Regions from separate parts of the Homo sapiens genome. Here regions 1 and 2 are each linked to region 3. Evidence: promoter capture Hi-C in human tissues and cell types (Jung and others, 2019). All regions are on one chromosome and are shown on one strand. The core of a region is centred on a gene start or on the middle of the fragment in contact, and the rest is flanking DNA. Distances in the headings are between cores, read along the strand shown. Region 1 overlaps PTPN3 (protein tyrosine phosphatase non-receptor type 3). Region 2 overlaps ELP1 (elongator acetyltransferase complex subunit 1). Region 3 holds the start of FRRS1L (ferric chelate reductase 1 like).

Region 1 (4,125 bases), core at 860-3,359, 260 kb after region 3:
AACTGGGCACAGTGGCTCATGCCTGCAATCCCAGCATTTTGGGAGGCTGAGGCGGGTGGATCACTTGAGGTCAGGAGTTCAAGACCAGCCTGGCCAACATGGCAAAACCCTACCTCTACTAAAAATACAAAAAATTAGCCAGGTATAGTGGCGCATGCCTATAATTCCAGCTACTTGGGAGGCTGAGGCATGAGAACCCCCTGAATCCCCGAGACAGAGGTTGCAGCGAGCCAAGATCGCACCACTGCACTCCAGTCTGGGGAACACAGTAAGACTCTGTCTCCAAAAACAAAAAATTATACAGAGTTTCAGGCTACGTTCTTTGAAATGTGCTACCCTGAAGGTTACTTTTGAATTTTATTTATACCTAGAGAATTTAAATCTTAGCTATCTAGACCCCTCAGAGAATGAATTATTTGAGAGAATAGAGCATGAAGCCTGTCACCCTGTTAAAGGGTGACAACTTTGGTTCTGGCATCTCTAAATTTTAAACTAGGATTTAATGTCTTATGAAAACATTCTACACATTTCCTTGTGACATGACATCAACCAACCAACAAAAACAAAACAGAACAAAGAACAAACAAAAGAACATAAACAATATGAATCGCCCTGTAGCACATCATGTACTAATTCACATTAAGAAATGCTGTTGTCACCCTGATCAAAATGCTCACAACAGCATCACTGGGAGACTCTTTCCTCTGAGGCAGGCCTACATCAGAAACCACACTGCCAGTGATGAAGAGCACAGGATCAAAACAAGGGGAGCAAACTGCCCAACTCCAAGGTTTAATGTGTCATGGGTTATTAATAGGGACTCTCTGAAAAAAAAGTGTTCCATTGTCCCATAAGCTTGGAAAATAACCCAACAAATTTCTTTTTATGTGGAACCTTTCAGAAGGCCCAATAAGCAGATGTGTATCTGTATCTCTAGGGGCTGGGCAAGTCATGTGACCCTTCTAAGCCTCAGTGTCCTCATCTGTAAAATGGAGGTAATGAGACTTGAAATTCACCAGTATGCTGAAGCTGGCACAGGTAGTAAAAGAACTGCTGACTTGTCCTCCCAAGCCATCCTCCCAACCCAAATGATCCCCTGTGGCAGATTAAAGATGACTGCAAGTTCTTTGAGTCTTGCATCTGGGTTGGCTTGTGACTGCTTTCAGCAACAGAGTCGCTGTGCCAGTGCCAGGTCTCACCCTTAAGAAGGCTGAACGGTTCTGCCTTTCGCTCCTGGAACCCTGAGTGTCCATGTAAGAAATTCAACCACCCTCCTGGAGTATCCAGATGGGGATGCTAAGGAGTCCAGGTGAGTCCAGCCTTCCAACCATTCCATCAAGACACCAGGTATGCAAGAGAAGTTATCTTGGATCCTCTGGCCACATTCACTGAGAAATCCCTATCTACACCACACAGAGCAGAAGAGGCCTCTGGCCAAGCCCTTCTAGGATTCCTGACTCACAAAGTCATGAGATATAACAGAATGGGTGTTGCTTTCAGTCACCAAAATAGGGGTATTTTCTTGTGCCACAATACAAGACCAGAACCCAGCCCTGCTGGCATTGGATGCATGCAGATGACAAAGCTTTGCAGATGAAGAAATAGAAGCAACAAATTAAAGCTCAAGTGACAGAGGCAGGATTTGAACCCAGGCAGCTCAGCAACAGAGGGCATGGTTTCAGTTGCCTCCCCATTCCTTCTCTCATCTGGCCTGAGGATCAGGCCCAACCTAAGTCAATGATATAATCCAGTAAGTTATTTTCATGGCTTGCTCAACAGTAGATCTACTGAATGTATACAAATACTAAACAGTATTATAAGAGCTAAAAACTTAATATATTCACTCTTGGTTCATCAGAAGCTGAGAGATAGCATTTAGCACCACAAATAGTATCACTGATACTAACAGAAATTAGCTACTTATTCAGTTTACAAGTTCCCTAATGATTATCAATGTATTAGGAAAGTAACTGGAACAGTCTGATGCAGTTCCACCTATCAGAAAGATAATGGCTCAGACACGGGTCTCATTTAGTTAGTAATAGCCACATCAACAACAAATCACGAAAACAATTTTGAAAAACCAACAAATGATTTAGAAAATATGGCCTGGCACGGTGGCTCATGCCTGTAACCCCAACACTTTGGGAGGCCGAGGCAGGCAGATCACCTGAGGTCAGGAGTTCGAGAGCAGCCTGCCCAATGTGGTGAAACCCTGTCTCTACTAAAAATGCAAAAATCAGCTGGGCGTGGTGGTGGGCACCTGTAATCCCAGCTACTTGGGAGGCTGAGGTAGGAGAATTACTTGAACCCAGGAGACAGAGGTTGCAGTGAGCCGAGATCACTCTAGCCTGGGCGACAGAGTGAGACTTCGTCTCAAAACAAAACAAAACAAAAAAGAGAGAATAGGCTGGGCACGGTGGCTCATGCCTGTAATCCCAGAACTTTGGGAGGCCAAGGTGGGTGGATCACCTGAGGTCAGGAATTCGAGACCAGGCTGGCCAACCATGGTGAAACCCTGTCTCTACTAAAAATACAAAAATTAGCCAGGCGTGGTGGTGTGCTCCTGTAATCCTAGCTACTCGGGAGGCTGAGGCAAGAGAATCGATTGAACCTGGGAGGCGGAGGTTGCAGTGAGCCAAGATGGCACCACTACACTCCAGGCTGGGTGACAGAGTAAGACTCCATCTCAAAAAAAAAAAAAAAAGAAAAGAAAGAAAGAAAAAAGAAATTATAAGAATAAATTGACAATTTATGCTACCTCTTATACTTAGAGGGTAGTCTTAGAACAAAGAAAACAAAAATACAAACTGCATGGTTATTTCATTTAGAGAATAAATTTATCTTAATTAGAATTTTAAAATGTATATACGAATTATATATATCAATGTACATCCATTTCTTTTACTGTACATCATTTTATTTAGAGAATAAATTTTAATCTAAATTAGAATTTAAAAATTTATATATTATATATATTTATACATAAATATATATAAATTTACATCCATTTCTTTTCCTGTACTAGTCATTAAATATTTTGAATATCATTCCTGTGGCTAATAGTACCTATCTCATAGGAGAGTTGTAAGAGTCAAATATAATTATGTGCCCAGCACAAAGTAAATGCTCAGTAATTATCAACTGTGATTACTACTGTTATTTTGTAATTATTATAGGCAATATATCCCAAAGTCACTTGACTCTGGAAATGTTTTTCTATTCCTTCATTCATTTTTATAGAGCATCTTATGGAATTAAAGTTCTGTGGGAGAGGCTGGCATAGTGGCATCAGACTGGGATAGCCCAGTATGCTGGCACCAGGAGACACACAGAACCATGGCTCCATTTCCTTTATTATGTCATGGTGCAGGGTACAGCTGCCATTCTGACTGCTTGGAAGTGCTGAGTTCAGCAGAGTTGAGGGGAGAGAAATGCTGGGAACATGAGATATCCCTTAGACACTGCTGACCCCGGGAGACTTTTAGTTATGGTTCAGAGATCCAATGCCTGGAGCCCCTGGGCTATGGGTTTCCTCCTCTGCCTAACAATGTCCTCTATTCACTGATGACCAGGATGCATTTACATCTCAGCCTAGTGTGGACACAGTCTTTACAGCACACTCACTTTTTGGTGTTCCGAGAGCCCATAGTCCAGTACTGAGACAGAACATTCTTTTCCTGAGGTAGTAGCTTCTTTGCCTGAAAGAACGTATGGTGCTCAACACAGGATTTCCACAAGTTTTTGCAAGATCGGTAATTCAGCATGTTGAAGGCCACAATATGTTCCCTGGATTCAGCCTGGGAGGAAAAACAGTCAAGATTTCACCCACACAGACATAGGAGCAGGGACTTGTAAGCATTTAACCCACATTGGTGAAATGAGGTAAGATGCAACAGACAGCAGAAAACTGGTTTCAAAATGCCGTGGCCACAAACCAGTGTACCGGAATATTCAAGAGCACGATTTGTTAACCGTCTTTATGAACATGGTAATAGAGATGACCAGAATCTATTCTTTATCATCATCTGCGCTTCTTCATGAATGCTTTTATTTCAAATCTATTTACATTTCTAGGCTGGATACATTTGGAGCAATCAGATAAAAACCGTCTGATACACTCCT
Region 2 (4,192 bases), core at 1,257-3,756, 280 kb before region 3:
TCAAATACACACACAACATTCTGTAAAACAGACCATATTATAAATTAAAATAAATTATAAATTTAAATTAATAAAATGTATGTTCTCTAATCACAACAAAATTAAAGTAGAAATTAATAACAAAAAGATGGCTGGCAAATCTCCAATATCTGCAAGTTAAACATACTTCTAAATAAGCCAAGGTTCAATAAAGAAATCACAAGGGAAATTAGGAAATGAAAACAAAACATTTCAAAATTTGTATAACATAACTAAAACGGTGCTTGAGGAAAATTATGGCATTATATGCTTAAACTATAAAGTAAGGAATCATCTCAAATCAATAGCTTTAAGCCATCACCTTGGTCAGGCACAGTGGCTTACACATGGAATCCCAGCACTTTGGGAGGCAGAGGTGGAGGGATCACTTGAGGCCAGGAGTTTCAGACCAGCGTGGGCAACTAGTAACACCCCATCTCTACAAAAAAAATTAAAAATTAGCCAGGCATGGTGGCATGCACCTGTAATCCCAACTACTCTGGAGGCTGAGGGGGGAGGACAGCTTGAATGTAGGAGTTTGAGACTGCAGTGAACCATGATCGTGCCACTGCACTCCAGCCTGAGCAAGAGTGGGACCCTGTTTCTTTAAAAAAACAACAACAACAAAAGAAAAAAATAAGAAAAAAATAAAAGTAAGCCATCACCTTAAGAAACTAGAAAAATAAAGAGCAAATAAAATAATAAAATAATAAAAAAAGAATGATATAGAATACAGAAAAATCATAGAGAAAAACAATGAAACAGTTCATTCTTTAATAAGATCAATAAAATTGATAAACCTCTGGCCAGAATAATCAGAAAAAAGAAGACACATCAATATCTAGAATGAAAGACAGGACATCACCATAGACCCTACGGACAGTAAAATAAGAGAATACTATAAACACTTCATACCAATAAATCTGACAATTTAGATGAAATGAACAAATTACTTGAAAGACATAAACTACCAATGCTCATTCCAGAAGACACAGATAAACTTGAATAGGCTAATGTCTACTAAAGTAACTGAACTAATAGTGGAAAAGCTTTCATTAAAGAAAACTCCTGGCCGAGATGGCCTTACTGGTATATTCTACTAAACATTTAAAGAAAAAAATATCTCCCAAGAGCTGGGAGAAAGAGCTGAGCTGTCAGGTGTTGGAGTAGCTGATCAAAGCAACAAGTCAAAAATGAATTAAGCCTTCAGGCATTGCATTGGTATAAGCAAGAGGCTAAAACCAGGGAAAGCACCAACTCTCTCTGTTCCATTTTTTCCCAAGGAACAACTCACTAGTCAAGAGTCAGCTGGATCCACACAGACATGAGGGTTGGTTCACTGTTGAAGGAGCTTGGAAAAAAAGGCTTTAGCAGTTTGATGGATCTTGGGGGTATGGGTGCAAAGGAAGGGGGCTAAGGGTGGAAAAGTACTGGGTAGTGAGTCACAGTGGAAAAAAATGTCAAGGTTTTTCCACTCCTTCTTGCATAAACAGGCCTTGGCAGAGGTGCCTGAAGAAGACCTTGGCCCATGGCCTCAGATAGAGAGACCTAAGAATGAAAGTGCCAGGACTCTCAATGCAAATACTGTTACAAGAGCATGACTAACAGGGGGCCCTGAGTCCTTGACTGCAACTCCCTTTAGAAACTGTAATGCATTGGCAGTACGCCAAGTCTGGTGTAGGGAGGGCAGCTTTTCCCCATGTGGCCTCCTAGGTAAAGTCTGTAATTGTTTATGGTCAGGTCTGAAACATCACACATAGGTTTTTAACCATAAGCTAGACTCTCATACCAATTCTACATGAAATCCTCCAGAAAACAGAAGTGTAAAGGACACCACCCCTCATTTTTGTCACCCCTCAATGACAGCAGCATTATCCTGATACCCAAAACATGGCAAAGACACGAAAAAACTACAATATCCCTCATGAACACAAACACAAAAATCCTCAAGAAAATTTTAGTAGATCTAATCTGCCACAAGAGAAAAAGGGTAATAAATCTATAATACCAAGTGGGGTTGAACCCAGAGATGCAAGGTTGGTTTAACAGTAGAAAATCAATCACCTAGTCCCCCATATCACTCGTCTAAAAACAAAACCCTTCATAGTTGAAAATGCATTTGACAAAATTTAACACCCATTCATGATACAAACTCTCAGAACAAGGAACAGAAGGGAATTTCCTCAAACCAAGAGGGCAGGAATTGGCAAATTTTTCCTGTAAAAGATTAGACAGTAAATATAGGCCTTATGGGCCAAACTATCTGTGTCACAACTCTAACTCTGCTGCTGTAGTGTTAAAGCAGCCATACACAAGATGTAAACTAATGAGCATGGCTATGCTCCAATAAAGCTTTATTTACAAAAACAGGTGGCATGCTGGATTTGTCACAGGTTGTAGTTTGCCAACTCTGCAATAGAGAGCATTAAAAAAAAAAAAAAAAGCAAATATCAGGCCAGGCACGGAGGCTCATGCCTGTAATCCCAGCACTTTGGGAGGCTGAGACAGGCGAATTGCTTGAATCCAACAGTTCAAGACCAGCCTGGGCAACATGGCAAAACCCCATCCCTACAAAAAATACAAAAATTAGCCAGGCATGGTGGCATGTTCCTGCAGTCCCAGCTACTCAGGAGGCTGAGGTGGGAGGATCGCTTGAGCCTAGGAGGTCAAGGTTGTAGTGAGCTGAGATCACACCACTGCACTCCAGCCTGGGTGACAGAGCAAGACTCTGTCTCAAAAATAAAATAATATAGAATAAAATTTTAAAAAAGCAAACATGACACTTAATGCTAAAAGACAAGTGAATTTTCTCCAATATCAGGAAAAAGGCAAGGATGTTCACTCTTAACACTTCTATTCAACACCACACTGGAAGCCCTAGAAAATGCAATACAGATAGAAAAAAGTATTGATTGTAAGAAAGACATAAAACTATATTTATAGAAACCATGTTTGTTGATGTAGAAAATCCTAGAGAATACACCCAAGAGCTTCTAGAACTAATAAATGAGTTTAGCAAGGTTGCAGGATACAAGGTCAATTATACAGCCTCCCTGCAAAACACTTCAGCTATATTTCTATATACTAGTAATAAAACATTAGAAAATGAAATTAAAAACTAGTCAAGCCTTGAGATGACTCTAGCCCTGGCCAATACCTTAATTGCAGCCTTGTAAAGGACCCTGAGCCAGAGGCCCCAGCTAAGCCCAGCCAAGATTCTTGGCCCATTGAAAAAGTGGGATAATAGGGTCTGTTGTTTTAAGCTGCCAGCTTTTAAGGTAAGTTGTTACGTAGCAATAGATAATACATCTAGTGTCACAGTAATACACCCAGTGTTGGTGAGTATAGGAGTCACTGAAGCACTCTCACATATCACTGAGGGGAATGCAAAATGATACGGCCACTGCAGATTAGTTCTGCAGCTTCCTAAAAAGTTAAACATCCACTTACCACGGGATGTGGCATTCCTACTCCTGTCCCCATAAAGACCTGCACTAGAATGTTCATGGCTGCGTTATTCATAATAACCCCAAACTGAAAACAATCCAAATGTACATCAACTGGTAAATCAACAAATTCTGACATATACATATAATGGGATACTATTCAGCAATACAAAGGAATAAACTACAACATGGATGCATCTCCAATGCACTATGTGAGTGAAAGGAGCCAGATTAAAAAGACTACATACCATATGGTTCTGTTTATATGAAATTCTAGATAATGTGAAACTTTACTGACTGATCAGTTTGCCAAAGGCTGGCAGTGGAGGGAGAAGGCTGACTGCAAAAGGGGAAGTAGGGAACTTTTGGGGGTGTTAGAAATGTTCTAGATCATGAGTGCAATGGTGGTTACACAGCTACAAACATATGTCCAAATGTACTGAATTCTTCATCTAAAATTGGTGAATTAGCTTTATTATATGTAAATTATACAACTGTACAACACATAATTTTATTGTATGTAAATTACACAAAATAATTTTATGCATTAATCTTCCTTTACAAAGAAAAAAAGATAATGACATCTTATCCATTTAATTAACCCTCGATGTGGTATATCTTTCCAACCCAACCTATCTACCCTTTTAGGTATGTTTCATTCACTGGTATTTTCAATTCAATCACCCAACAAATATTCTCTCCAGGATCTAATTATATAAAATTTTAGT
Region 3 (4,482 bases), core at 219-2,718:
GTCAGTGACCTTCTTCCTGCTTCATTTTTCCCACTGTCTAGAATGTGAACATAATGGCTGTAGCTCAAGCAGTTATTTTGAACCATGAAGTTACATGCTAAGAATTGTGAAGAAACAGAAGGGCAGGATCCAGAGACACTGGTGACCAAGGAGCCTCCAGACCAGTTCTGGATTACCTATTTCTAGTTTTCTTTCTGTAAGAGAGAAACTTCTATCTTGTTGAAGCTATTAATGTTTGCTTGTTGTATACAGCTGAACTTAATCCTAACAACAGACACATCCACTAACAGATATGAGCTCCTGGGACTCAACACTTCAAACCCCAGCTTGATGGTTGGATATCCCTCTTAGCAGAAGAAAAGGAAAGTCACTACTTCCCAAAGTTGCTTAAAGAGGCCAGTTTCCATTCCTTCTGACCACCATCCGCTTGGCTTTTGTGCTCGTTGAAGCAGCTCTACAGGGAGGCCCTTGGCTGACAAACTCCCAGTCTGCGGGCCCAGCAGGCCACAACAATGGTGGCTCGCACTAGGGGACCATAACATATGTGGCGTCATAAAAGAGGAGGGATGGGAGTGGGGAGGCTGATGTGACCCAGCTCTGACGGGTCAGTGAGCAGGAACAGAATGCTACGAGGTGGGCGCTGGTCACTGCAAATTTAAGTCAATACAGACAGGGAGGAAATAAGGCAACCTCTCTCTTTAGGTTGGGGTTTTTCTGCTTCCCCCTAGCTGCCCTGGCCAGATGGCGGCCTCCTCCCCTATAACCCAACCCCAGGCGGCAAAGGTGGAAGCCAGATCTAAGAACTGGGGGAGCTTAGACTCAGCACCCACCCCTATCCACAGCCTTGCAGAACTTGGATGACCCCTCCCTCTCCCAGCCTCACTCTCCCCATCTGTAAAGCGGGCGGCAGGCATTGACAGCTCTTTGGGCCTTTCCTCCAGGCCGGCGGAGGCCTGGGCACTGCGCTCCCCATCCTGGCCTCGCCTCTGCAAGAGCTGCCTCCACGGACATCTTTTCCGACCCCCTCCCCCTCCCTCGCCCCCTCTCCTCGTTCCCCCGATCCTCGGTCCCCCACCCCCGGTCTCCCCTCCCGCAACCCCTCGCCCTCCCGCAGCCTCACCCTCCTCCGACAGGTAGCGCAGGTCGTAGAACTCCCCCGCGAAGGTGCCGTAGGAGGAGTCGTGGCGCGGCACCGCCTCGTCGGCGCCCGTGTCCCCCCGCGCGCGTCCCCGGGGTCCCCGGCCCCCCGGGCCCGCACCGTCGTCCGCGGGGCTGGCTGCGCAGGCGGCGGGCCCCGTCAGTAGCAGCAGGAGCAGCGACGCCCAGACCCCCGGGTGCTGCCGGGGCGGCCGCGCCATCCGTGCGCACAGATCCCGCAGCCAGGCCGCTCGGGCCGCAGCGGGGGCGCCGCGGGCGCGGGCCGGGACTGAGCCTCCGCCGAGGCCACCAGCACGCGCCCGCGCAGCCGCGGAGCCTCCCGCACCCCCGCCTCCCTGCCTCGGTCTGCGCATCCTCGCTCCAGCACCGCAGCCTCCCCCTTCTTCTTGGAACCCCCCTCCTCCCCGCACCGATCTCTCCTTCCTAGCAGCTTCCCTTCTACCGTCCTTCTTTCCATTCTCCCCATCTCCCCGACTTCCCTCCACGCAGGCAGATTTGGCCCTTCTGGCCCCTTGCTACTCCGGAGTGTGGTCCGCGGACCGGCAGCATCAGCATCACCTGGAAGCTTGTTAGCATCGCTGAGGCCCCACTCCAGACCCATGAAGCGGGATGTTCATTTCATCAAAATTCCCAGGAGATCCCAATGCACGTTCAATTTATGAAACGCTCCTCTAGAGAGTTTACCCTGGACACACCTGGTCAGTGCTGCCTCCTCAACCTTGTGCCGGCACTTTTTGGTTTACATAAAGCACTTGCTAGACCTATTATTTCTTGGATCATCACAGAAGGAACTTGAAATTGCAAGACCCCCACAATAGAGCTAGGTAAACTGAGGTGTTTAGAGACAGAGAAAACTGGATTCACCTGCTTCCTCTCCAGGCTCTTGCGGTGTGTAATCAACAGAGGCTGGTGCCAGTAGGTAACCTGTTCCCCTTCAAAACTAGGCTTCTGGTTTACTCTCTTTCCCTGCAGCAAGCACGCGCAGGCCTTGGAAGGCCCACACCGTATCTGAGGGCCATGCTGAATTGTTGATTTTTCTCAAATCCATTCCTGCTGCTTGCAGTTCACTTTTGGCTATTTACTCAGCCATCCATTGATTCACACCAAGCATTTGCTTTATGGCAGGTCCCAGGGTTCTCTTTTGATGATGGTTGTTGGGGTGATATATTCGAATTGCTAAGCTGTTTTCCATCAGAGAGGCGGACGCAATTCCTTTCAGGCTGGTGTTGCAGAGCCAGCATTTTAACCTGCTTTTCCTATTTTATTATTTTATTTTATTGCATAAACAAAATAATTATGGAGGCAGAAAAGCATAGAGGTCCCAAATGCAGACCTAGAAGTCAGACTGCCTGATCTCTCATGATTAGTCATTGACATGATGCAATGAAGATTAGGGAAGATCATAGAGGTAAGGATCAATAGGGTTCAGTGCTGTAAGTGGCATGCACACATGTACACAATATTGTGAAATGTTAATATTCAAAAGGAAACTAGTGATCTTAACCCTTTATGGCCTGATTGGCTGAGAGATAAGGGTAGTGCTGTTGAAACAGGGGAGACATGATGGGGGACTTAGAAGTCAGGTATTTTCTATTAGGTATCAGCTAACAGTGGGCTGTCCAACTGGAATTTAAACATATTAATCCTGATGGCTGAATTGAGGTGTAATTCATGAAAACCTTGGGCTTCACTAGGTCCCCCAACATAGCAGTTGTCACAAAAAATAGATCAGATTATTTGAAAAAGGTAAGATGAACTATGATTACTTTAAAAACTCAAGAGACTTCTTCCCAAAAAGCATAGCGTGGCAATGCATAACATTCTAAAAAAGCTGATCCAACAGATTGAAAATCTGTTAAAGTGTAGTCCTTCAAAAAAAAAAAAAAAAACAAAAACAAAAACAAAAACCTTAAACCTTTCTTAAAAATTAAAATTTCTTTATTTTCTTTTCTTCTCTTTCTGTTCACCAGGGAAGGTATGGTCAACTTAGAATGGACCAAAGTTTAGCCAAAAAAATAAAGCATTAGACTTTTGATTTCAGTGTAGATTCTCTGGTTTGGGAATACAAGCTTTTACCTCTTACTTTCCTTTTTATTCCCTTCATTTTGGTTACTGAAATTAACAATAACGGTGCCCAAATAGAAGGCAAATGAAAACCAGGCCATTCTTCTCCGAGTAAATTAATCTGATATAAAAACACGTGGGCAGCCGGGCACGGTGGCTCACGCCTGTAACTCCAGCACTTTGGGAGGCCGAGGCGGGCGGATCACAAGGTCAGAAGATCGACACCATCCTGGCCAACACGGTGAAATCCCGTCTCTACTGAAAATACAAAAAATTAGCCGGGCATGGTGTCGGGCGCCTGAAGTCCCAGCTACTCGGGAAGCTAAGGCAGGAGAATGGCGTGAACCTGGGAGGCGGAGCTTGCAGTGAGTCGAGATCAGGCCACTGCACTCTAGCCTGGGCGACAGAGCAAGACTCCATCTCAAAAAACAAACAAAAAACAAACAAAAAAACAAAACAAAACAAAAAAAACCACCACCACGTGGGCTTTCTATATTGTTTTTATGGGGGTATTTGGGTATTTTGGGGACGGTTTACAACTACAGCCTAAAATGAAGTTTGCAGGTAAACTGTGGATTTCAATTCTCTCTCTACTCATGTAGACTCACAGGGGGCCACAGATAGGCTTCAGGGGTGATATGAGGACCTTATGAAAGTGCTGGAATAATGTTGTGATGTATGGGTTTTTCTAGGGAGAAAACCCATAGCTTTTTTTATGAATTATTTTTTCCATGTTCAACTTTTTTTTTAATTTACTTTAAGTTCTGGGATACATGTGCAAAATGTACAGGTTTGTTACATAGGTATACATGTGCCATGGTGGTTTGCTGTACCCATCAACCCGTCATCTAGGTTTTAAGCCTGCATGCGTTAGGTATTTGTCCTAATGCTCTCCCTCCCCTTGCCTCACCCCCCACAACATGCCTCGGTGTGTGATGTTCCCCTCCCTGTGTCCATGTGTTCTCACTGTTCAACTCCCACTTATGAGTGAGAACATGCAGTGTTTGGGAAAACCTATAGCTTTTATGGGTCACTCAAGCCTTATGCCTTTTCAGGGCCCAGCAACCTATTCGGCTCCTTCCATTTCATGAGATTCTCTCCCATCCACTCAAATTGCCTTTGGGGATTTTCTTTCTCTTCATGTTTTCTGACACGATTTAAGTCCTGGAAAGAGTGGAGGCAGACCTATTCCAACCTTAAGCACATGCTCCCCTCTTAGTTACATCCTAGGTTTGCAGAGACCCTCTGTTCCCCACCAAT

What was found. The method cuts DNA at HindIII sites, captures the fragments that hold promoters and counts their contacts. A contact is called where the count stands out against the background at its distance.
Region 1: a fragment that was not itself captured here is called in contact with the fragment with the promoter of FRRS1L in region 3 in 2 of the 25 tissues and cell types used here (dorsolateral prefrontal cortex and pancreas).
Region 2: a contact is called between a fragment that was not itself captured here and the fragment with the promoter of FRRS1L in region 3, in 2 of the 25 tissues and cell types used here (heart left ventricle and mesendoderm cells).

Annotation. Positions count from the first base shown.
Region 1 is chr9:109,423,323-109,427,447 of GRCh38, forward strand. It overlaps PTPN3 (protein tyrosine phosphatase non-receptor type 3), which reads right to left. Exons shown (of 26, transcript NM_002829.4): 12 at 3,628-3,800. Among named protein-coding and RNA genes, the nearest start is that of PTPN3, 73 kb to the right of the region's middle. The HindIII fragment of the contact is 7,498 bases long and covers 1-4,125 here.
Region 2 is chr9:108,884,456-108,888,647 of GRCh38, forward strand. All of the region lies in intron 29 of ELP1 (elongator acetyltransferase complex subunit 1), which reads right to left. Among named protein-coding and RNA genes, the nearest start is that of ACTL7A, 24 kb to the left of the region's middle. The HindIII fragment of the contact is 6,266 bases long and covers 1-4,192 here.
Region 3 is chr9:109,165,781-109,170,262 of GRCh38, forward strand. It overlaps FRRS1L (ferric chelate reductase 1 like), which reads right to left and starts at 1,469. Exons shown (of 5, transcript NM_014334.4): 1 at 1,121-1,469. The coding sequence starts at 1,358. The HindIII fragment of the contact is 7,141 bases long and covers 1-2,475 here.